Regions from separate parts of the Homo sapiens genome. Here all the other regions are linked to region 1. Evidence: promoter capture Hi-C in 16 types of primary human blood cells and fetal thymus (Javierre and others, 2016). All regions are on one chromosome and are shown on one strand. Each heading gives the region's core, a stretch centred on a gene start or on the middle of the fragment in contact. The rest is flanking DNA. Distances are from core to core; before and after follow the strand shown.

Region 1 (2,916 bases), core at 134-2,633:
AGCCAGCTTGGCCCCGGCCAGTCCCCTGCCTCTAGGTCTCAGGACACTCCCTCCCTGCACTCAGAGGCCTTCCTTGAGCACCCATCACTCTTCACTCCCCATCCGGCTCGGACTCCCTTCCTGTGGCCGCACACAGTTGGTTTATGAATTGTGTGGCTCCTGAGCAACCCCAGCACCTGCAGGGAAAGGCACTCAGCTGAACCCGTAGATGAACGGGAGAAGCTGGCGCCAGGGACCAACCTCGAGAATTACCTCCCTGCCACGGTGGCCTCCAGTAGGCCAGCAGGCACCCAGCCTATCGCCCAAGGTCACCCTGGGCTTCCTTCAGCCCGGCACCCCACAGCAGGTCCCCCAAGGTCCCTTCCACGGAGCGATGGATACCCCTACTCCCTAGAGGCTGACCCTGCCACTGACCAGGTCCCAGTCCTCAGTTATGCACTTCCGGCTGTGCGGAAGAAACTTAACACCCTCCTCCTGCAGGGCACTGTCCACCCCTGGCTGGACCCATGCAAGCCCTTGGAGCCCAGGACTCTGCTCTCCCAGCCACACTTGCAAGCGGCTCTGGGATGGCGAACGGGGCCTCTCCATGGAAACCTCCAAGCCAGAAGAAGGGAGGCCTGGGAGGCCACTACATCTTGGATAAAACTGTGTCCCTCCCAGGACCTGAAGGGGCGGGGACTGATGACCAGCGCCAGGACCTGGTTCCCAGGGTGGGCTGACCCTGACCCTGACCCTGACCCTGGACAGAGAGGCCAGAGCCCACGCGCAGAGCAGAGCCCTCCACTTGTCCTCAGGGCAGCTCCCATCTCCCCATTTTCCCCAGGGCTTAAGGCAGCCGGGCCAGAGATGCCGGGACTGGACTCCATGTTGTCCTGGGGACCGGAGGGGAGTGGAGGGAGGTGGAGAGGGTGGAGGGGATGGAGGTGGGGACCCACACCCTCAGGCACGAGCCTGTCTTCACCTGCGCGGGCCCCGGACCTCCCTCACCTGTGCGCACCCTGGATCCCCCTCACTTCCCCCGGATCCCGCCTTCAATTGCGCGGGCACCAGATCCCCCCACTCACCTGTGCGTGCCCCGGATCCCCATCACTTCATCACTGGACCAGGGCCTCCCACCTGCGCGGGCTCCGGACCCCTCCAACCTCCGTGCGCCCTGCAACCCCCTCCCTTGCCCGGGCCCCCCTCACCTGCGCGGGCCGGGGGCGCAGCCGCGAAGCCTGCCTGGCGCGCGGGGCCTGCAGATTCGGCCGGCGGGGAGGGGATGCGGAACCAGTCGCGCCCAAACCTCGGGTCGGCGACCTGGCGCCCCGCCACCCCCAACACTGCCCCGAGGCCCGGTGACAATGAAGCGGCCGGACGGCCGGGGTGAGCAGCGGCGGCAGCTAGCAACCAGCCTGGCACCACCTCCCCAGCCCGTCACGCCGGCCCGCCTTTCCTGCGCGCGCCGACTCCGGATTGGCCCTTCACGCTCCCGCTCAGGCCGTCCCGGGAGCTCATTGGGCCGCTCGGCTGTCCTTCGGGAAGTTCAAGCGTGGGAGGAGCGGCGGATGGCTGAGGGACGCGACTACAGAGAGCGGCCGATTGGACGCGGCTGGAAAGGGGCGGGTCATATAGGGGGCGGGGGACCGAGGGCGGCGGGAGGAGCTGGCCGGGCAGGGGCGGGGCCCCAGCGGTTGTGGGCGGGGCGTGAGGTGGGGGTGTGATGGGCGAGTAGGGCGAGGCAGATGTGGGCGGGGCAAGGCAGGTGTGGGCGGGGCACGCAGGGCCTGGGGAGGAGACACCAGGGAGGGCGCGAGGAGCACGCGGCCTCGGCTCGGCTCCCCGACACCCCCAGGCCGCCGCACTCCCGCGGCCCGGGGCTCCCCCAGTGTCCTAGGCCGCTCTGTCCCCACCCACGTGCGCGACTCCCCTCGTTACTCAGTACGACTGCGAGGGCGTGTGGGCGCCTTGCTAACCTCCCTGACCTCCTTCCCTTCGCGCTGCTTTGTTGTTTTTTTTCCTTCTCCAAAGTTTTAACGCTGCGCCCCGTGCGTAGCCGCTCTGTGACTCCCCCTCTCTCCGGGAGCCCTGGGGATTCCGCCCAGGTCCTCTCCAGGGAAGCCATCCTTCCCCTAAAAGTCACAGCACACTGGTCTCCCCTGCCCCCGCTTTTTAAAAAGTCCAGTGCTCTGTAAAATAAAAAGTTTGGTTTCAGTAAAATCCACATTTTTTGGTGTGCAGTGGAGTTGTGTAACTTTAGTTACAGAACATTCTCCCTCCGGATCCCGTACCTGCTGACTGCTGGTGGCGGCTGCTCAGTTCTCTCTGTTCTCCATCCCTAGAGGCAGCCTTTTCCAGAATGTCACACAAAAGGGATGTCGCGCAGCGCGCCTGTGGGTCTGGCTTCTACCACTTCGCATTTTGAGATTCATGCTGGTTCCTCTTTATTGCTGAGTGGTATCCTGTAACCGGTGTGAACCACCGGTTCAGATGGTTTTATTTATTGATGGTTTTATTCATCAAATGAAGGACGCAGAGATTGTTCCTGGTGCTTGGCAATTATGAATGACGCTGCCATAAACATTCACTCATCGGCTTCTGTGTGGACACAACTTTTCATTTCTCTTGTGTAAATACCCAGGAGTGGGGTTGCTGGATCAAATGATTGTTTATAAGAAACTGCCGGCCGGGCGCAGTGGGTCCCACCTGTAATTCCAGAACTTTGGGACACTGAGGTGGGCGGATCACCTGAGGTCAGGAGTTCGAGATCACCCTGGCCAACATGGCAAAACCCCGTCTCTAGTAAAAATACAAAAAAATTACCCGTGCCTGGTGGCGTCTGCCTATAATCCCAGCTACTCAGGAGGCTGAGTCAGGAGAATCGCTTGACCCCAGGAGGCAGAGATTGCGGTGAGCGGAGATCACCACTGCACTCCA
Region 2 (2,916 bases), core at 221-2,720, 1.2 Mb before region 1:
ATATTGGCCAGGCTGGTCTCGAACTCCTGACCTCAGGTGATCCGCTCGCCTCGTCCTCCCAAAGTGCTGGGATTACAGCCGTGAGCCACGGCGCCCAGCCATAAAAACTTTCGCCATAAAAACTTTCGTTAGCCATAGTCTCACCATAAACATGCCACTTACAAAAAAATATGCGCACAATAACCACGCTCAGGATGCAAACAACATCCATTAATGAACTTTGTAGTTAATACCAAAAGTTACTCCTCACTTTATTCTTTATTTACAAAAGCTTTCATGGTTCTTAAAAGTGTTTAGTATTCACCAATTTTACTGTTAGCGTTTCTAATGAGGATTTTCTAAAACTGAGGCATGGATTTGAAAAAGTGTTCTGATCAATCAGTAACAGATTTGGAATGGAATCTCCAGCCCCCAGTCTTTGCGCCCACCCTCTGGCAATATGCCGCCTCACGTGAGCATCTTTAAGACGGAGTTCCCTTTTTATTCCAGATAAAAGAATTAGGAGCCTTCTGGTAGAAAAGAAAGCAGATCTTCAGGATCAAGTCGCAGAGGCTGGCCAATCAGCCCAGCTTCTCATTTGAACTTGACCCAGACAGTAAAACAAACTTTACCATAAGGCGAGACTAACTTTTGTTATGTCTTTTCTATTCATTTCCTATTTCTGAATCAAATCTGAACTACTTTGTGGCCAATATACGACACCAGCTTCCGAGTGTGGGAATCACAGGATTTCAGGATTCAGCGGCTTCCGGCAGGATCCCCTAGGTTATGTTTAGCAATCTTCAGTTGCCTTTCCTTTTTTTCTTTCCTTCCTTTCGTTCTTTCTTTCTTTTTCTTTTTTTTTTTTTCCCAAAGGAAAGAACAAGGGAGCCCAGGCGGAACGGAAGTGAGTATCCCGACACGCGGATCTTAAACAGCCCAGACCACCAAGCCCGACAGGCCGGGAAAGCTGAGCGCGCGCTGCTGGGGGGACGCACACTTTGGAGGCTGTGTGGGCGCGCGCCGGCACCCCACAAGTTCTCATCCGTCTGCTCCGCCGATTCAGCCAGACAAAGACCGCAAGTTCCCCGGTCCACCGCTCCAGACAGGCGGGGACCAGTCTCCCCGAATTAGGCCCATTCCGGGCCCGGGCGCCCTCACTCGCCGCGGGGAAAAGTCCCCAGGTGCCCCTCCGTGATCCAGGTCCTCCCACAACGCTCCCGCTCCTGCTGGCGCCCCGCACCCCGAGGACGGCGGCCGGACCCCGGCCCCTCCCCGGTCCCGCGGCTGCAGGCCCACGCGCCCCACGCGCCCCGCGCGCCCCCGCCCCAGCTCCGCCGAGGGGGCGCTGCTCGCTGCGCGGTGGACCCCTCGGACCCCGCCCCCGCGGCCCCGTCCGGGCCCCGATACCCACCCGGGTCCCGCTGCGGGGGCCGGATTCGCGCCGGCTCCGAGAGCCGCCACCGTCGCCTCCGCCGCTGCCGCCGCCAGTGAGGCGCGGCGGGGCGGGGACGCGCGGGGAGGCCCGGCCCCCGGCCCGCCCCCGGGCCCGCCCCCGGCCCGGCCCCTGCCTGCCCCCGCCGGTCTCCCCGCCCACCTTCTGGCCCAGCCCTGGGCCCAAGCCTCTAGTTCCCTGCTGGCCCTCCCTCAGGCCTCGCCGCGTCCCGGCCTCGGGGACTGTGCCCCGTCCCGAGCCTGGCGTCCCCAAAGGAAAGGCAGGGCTCCTCGGACGCTCCGCGTGCGCGCTGGCCCTCCGCTGCCGCCCTCTGCAGGGAGATTTCTCCTATTTCGGACTAGGAAGGGAAGATACGCTCCGGAAGACCCCCCGGGCGTCCATGCAAGGAGTCTCCGTAGGACCCCTGGAGAAGGGCACCGGAGCCCCCTAGGGCAGGAGATGGAAAAGCGCTCGCCATGCGCGGGGTCCCCGGCCCCCGGTGCCCCCAGCCCGCCTGCCATTCCCGGGCGCTTAGCAGTCCGGGGTCCCCAGGTGCCCGGCAGGTCCCTTCGGGACCTCGAGCCGCCCGCTGGGCACACGCTGACGCCGCTGTCGCTTTACAGAAATTGAGCGCAGCCGAGGCGGGACCCGGGCGCAGAGAGCGATAAAGGAAAAGCATGGTCGTGCTCTAATCATTACAGTCTAAGGGACGACACGTCGAGACGGCGCGCGCCTCTGCGTGCGTGGAGATGGCACAAAGGCCGCGCCGCCCCCGGCGGCCCCCGCCCTCGCAGCGCGCGTGGTCCCGGCCCGGCCGGATGTTGACAGCGTCGCCTAGCAACGGGAAATGGCGGAACCGGGCGGCGCGGCGGGCCGGTAAGCCGGGCCGAGGGGCAGCGGGTCTTGGAGTCGCCAGGCCGCGCTCTCCGTTCACCGCTCCAGGTGGCCCCCGCGTCGGCTCCTGCCTCGCCCCTTCGCCTCCACTCCCCCTTCCTCTCGCCTGTGTCCCTTCTCTCGCCATTTTGCTGGCCTTTCCCGTCCACTGCGTTCAGCCCCTCACCCCCCCGCCAACCCTTCTCACTTCTCCCCTCCTGTCCCTTTGTCCTCTCTCGGCCTCCCTCTTTCCCCTACTCCAAGCGCGCGACTCCCTCTAAAACCCGGGACCGCTCACTCTGCAGTCACCATGGCAACCACTCTGCGTGGCGGTCCCTGCGCGCAGTCCTCCTAAGAGTAGAGGGCTCTGCAGGGCGCGGGGCTGTTGGATACCGCCCCTGACCTTGCTCCGGGGCCACTCGCTGTGGCCGGAGACCAGCCCGGCCCCGCGCCTCCCTCCTGCAAGGACAGATCCCCTCTCGCAGGCTTGGGGGTGACCCGCGATGGGAGGGGTCCCTGCGGTTAGGCGGCCCGCGATAGTCCGCGGTCACCGTCCTGGGGCCTGGGTGGAAGCACTGAGCGCGCACAGGGAGGGCGGCTGAGTGAAGATCCCTGCCACCGGGCCTCTG
Region 3 (2,916 bases), core at 164-2,663, 1.1 Mb before region 1:
CATCTTTCAAACATACCAAGAGACAGCTCCTGATTCTGACTCTCTGGAGTGCTGCCTACCTAGCCAAATGTTTGCAGCATCAACCACCGGTTACTCAAAACACTCCAACTCTCCTCCTTCTGTCACTCACGTTCAATCCATCAGCCAATGCTGTCAGCTCCCTGGTACTCCATCTCCAAGGCAGCACAATCCTCTCTTCCCTGAACTGCAGCAAAAGCTCCCAACTCTCTTGTTTCCTCTCCTGCCTTGCCTCGCCTCACCTCAAATCTACAGACACCCAGAAGAATCTTTAAAACTGTAAATGTGATCGTGTCACATAGCTACTTAAAACCTTCCACTGGCTTCCCACTAGATTTCTAAATGAAATTCAAATTATTCGTCACCCTACACGTCTTTGCTAGATCTGCCCCGACTAGCTCTCCAAAATCCCACCACAGGGGACTTCTTTCAGTTCCTGGAATGCAGCTGGCTAAGGGCTGCAAGGCCCTGGCACCAGCTGTTCCTTCTGCCCCAACTGCTCTTCCCTCTTCTCATAACAGTCTCCTTCATCCAGAACTCTGCTCAAATGGCACCCCCTCCTGCGAACCCCCTTACCTCTCTGCTTTACTAATTCTCTCCTCCTTCCCAGTCCCACTCTATTCAATTACCCCGCTTCAGGTTCTTCAGGTTGCCTGGGCAACCTGACAGTATGCTTTCCCCCCAAACGAAATTCAAAACCCGTAAAGGCGCAAACCCTTCCGGTTTACCGCCAAAACCCCAGTACCTAGAAAAGCTAATAGGTAGAAATCAGTTATCTGCTGAATGAAGGACGCTGAGGTGCCTCGAAGCGGCTGCAGCCCCCGACAGACCCAGCGCCGAGCTCTGCACGGGGGACACACACCGAAAGCGCCGACACAGCCAGGCGTGAGGGCGAGGACGGGGGTGGGGGTGGGGGTCGGACGTCACTGGCCCCCGAGCCTCGACCCTGACCACGACCTCCGGAGCGCAGGGCCGGCCCGGGAGTCACCAGTCTGGCCCTCAGCCCCCGGCTCGCCCCCGACTCGCCCCCGGCTGGCCCCCGCGGCCCGCGCCCGCTCACCGTAAGCGTAGATGCCCCGCAGCAGGTCCTCCCGCAGGCCCATGGTGTCGAACGTGGGGGTCACATCCACCTCCTCGCTGGTCTCGAATTCCACTTTAGTCATGTCTTCCTCTTTGAGCAGCCGCTTTCGCGCCGAGCCCGAGGTCGCCATCGTGGCCGTGGTCGCCATGATTCAGAGTCCGCGGAAGAGCACAGCGCGCGCCGCTGCCGACCTCGCTGCCGCTGCCGACCTCGCTGTGCCGCTGCCGACCTCGCTGCCGCTGCCGACCTCGCTGTGCCGCTGCCGACCTCGCTGTGCCGCTGCCGACCTCGCTGTGCCGCTGCCGACCTCGCTGTGCCGCTGCCGAGAACAGACGCCTTAAGTATGCGAAAGCGAGAGACGTGCGTGCGTACGTGCGTACGTGCGTACGCGCGACGCGGCCACGCCTCTGGGGGACGGGGCACTCTTCGTCACGTGAAAGGGAACTGGGCGTTTGCCGCAGGGAAAAGTAAGGTGTTTCTGCTCTCGCGCCATATGCAGTTCCCGCGGGATCTCGTTGAGGGCGGGGCACCCAGTTCCTTACGAAAGGGATGGAGGGGGTGGTACTTCTAAAGTTGGCGGTGTTTCGTACCGGCCGCGGGATTTCGCGGACTGGGGCGCTGAGGTTCTTTGAGCGGCGTGTGGACCTGAATTCCCTGGAAACAGGCTGGGGCCGCGAGGGGCCTCCGCTCCGGGCGGGGTCCCCAGATAGCCCCGCCTCGAATAAAAATGACGAGCACGGGTCCTCTCTCGGGCCCGCAGTGGGTGGACTGCGTCGCAGACCCGTAGTGGAGGCGCCCAGCTCGCCGGGGAGATTCGAGTGGAAACCCTCACGGCCGCCGGTGGTGGGCCCCGGCGCGGCGCTGGGCTCCGGCGGGTCTGCGCTGGGGAGGGCCAGGGCCCCTGAAGCCGGCGTCCCTCTTAGGGGACGCGCCTGGGTGTGTCTTCACCGTTTGCCTGGTGAGTTGGAGACAGGGTCTCGCTCCGTCGCCCAGGCTGGAGTGCAGTGGTAGGATCAGGGTTCATTGTAGCCTCCGCCTCAGCCTCTGGAGTAGCTGGGACCTCAGGCGCGCGCCACCACGCCCGGCTAATTTTTTAAATTTTTTTGTAGAGACGGGGTTGGGGGAGGCGGGGGTTAGGGTTGTCCTGGCTGGTCTTGAACTGCGGGGCCTCAGGTGATCCGCCTGCCTTGGCCTCCCAAAGTGCTGGGATTACAGGCATGAGCCACTGTGCCCGGCAAGCAGCTGTTATAAATAAAATACATGCTGAGCCTGCAATTTGCTCTTAATGAAGGCCACTTGTCAGTAGACGGTGCTGCTAATGCGTGTCCTGCAGCAAAGATAACCCAGACGGGATCATTTTTTAATTGCCCAGCAGAACTTTAACCAGTTGTGCATCTTAACCTGCTTTTTGTTTGTTCGTTTGTTTGTTTTGAGACAGTCTGGCCCTGTCGCCCAGGCTGGAGTGCCATGGCGCGATCTCGGTTCACTGCAGCCTCCACCTCCCGAGCACAGGCGATCCTCCCGCCTCAGCCTCCAGAGCACCTGGGACCACAGGTGTCCACGCGCAGCCACTAACCGCTTTCTTATCTGACACTTTAAGTGCTTCTTCGTACCCAGCTCCTCTAACGCCTTTTGAAGCAGCTCCATCATCTTTGAAGGGCAGTTCATGCTGTTGAGAATCATGTTTTTAACTTTGGGAAAATTGTATTTCCACGAGCGCCAGCTCTGTCCTTTTTTTTTTTTTTTTTTTTTTTTTTTTTTGACGGAGTCTTGCTCGGTTCGCCCAGGCTGGAGTGCAGTGTCGCGATCTCAGCTCA

What was found. The method cuts DNA at HindIII sites, captures the fragments that hold promoters and counts their contacts. A CHiCAGO score of 5 or more calls a contact.
Region 2: a contact is called between the fragment with the promoter of TBC1D16 here and the fragment with the promoter of CEP131 in region 1, in 2 of 17 cell types (total CD4 T cells and non-activated CD4 T cells). The highest score is 5.4, in total CD4 T cells.
Region 3: a contact is called between the fragment with the promoter of EIF4A3 here and the fragment with the promoter of CEP131 in region 1, in 2 of 17 cell types (non-activated CD4 T cells and naive CD8 T cells). The highest score is 11.2, in non-activated CD4 T cells.

What each region holds. Positions count from the first base shown.
Region 1 is chr17:81,221,582-81,224,497 of GRCh38, forward strand. CEP131 (centrosomal protein 131) reads right to left here and starts at 1,384. Exons shown (of 26, transcript NM_014984.4): 1 at 1,188-1,384. RefSeq lists enhancers at 1-415, 416-1,085, 1,086-1,755 and silencers at 1,117-1,446, 1,607-1,976. The HindIII fragment of the contact is 19,797 bases long and covers 1-2,916 here.
Region 2 is chr17:80,034,402-80,037,317 of GRCh38, forward strand. TBC1D16 (TBC1 domain family member 16) reads right to left here and starts at 1,471. Exons shown (of 12, transcript NM_019020.4): 1 at 1,394-1,471. It overlaps CCDC40 (coiled-coil domain 40 molecular ruler complex subunit), which reads left to right and starts at 2,241. Exons shown (of 20, transcript NM_017950.4): 1 at 2,241-2,290. The coding sequence starts at 2,262. RefSeq lists a silencer at 1,470-1,539 and enhancers at 1,730-1,849, 2,749-2,916. The HindIII fragment of the contact is 6,044 bases long and covers 270-2,916 here.
Region 3 is chr17:80,145,715-80,148,630 of GRCh38, forward strand. It overlaps EIF4A3 (eukaryotic translation initiation factor 4A3), which reads right to left and starts at 1,414. Exons shown (of 12, transcript NM_014740.4): 1 at 1,079-1,414. The coding sequence starts at 1,247. RefSeq lists enhancers at 641-1,355, 1,356-2,068, 2,069-2,782, 2,783-2,916 and silencers at 993-1,042, 1,883-2,072. The HindIII fragment of the contact is 5,955 bases long and covers 1-2,916 here.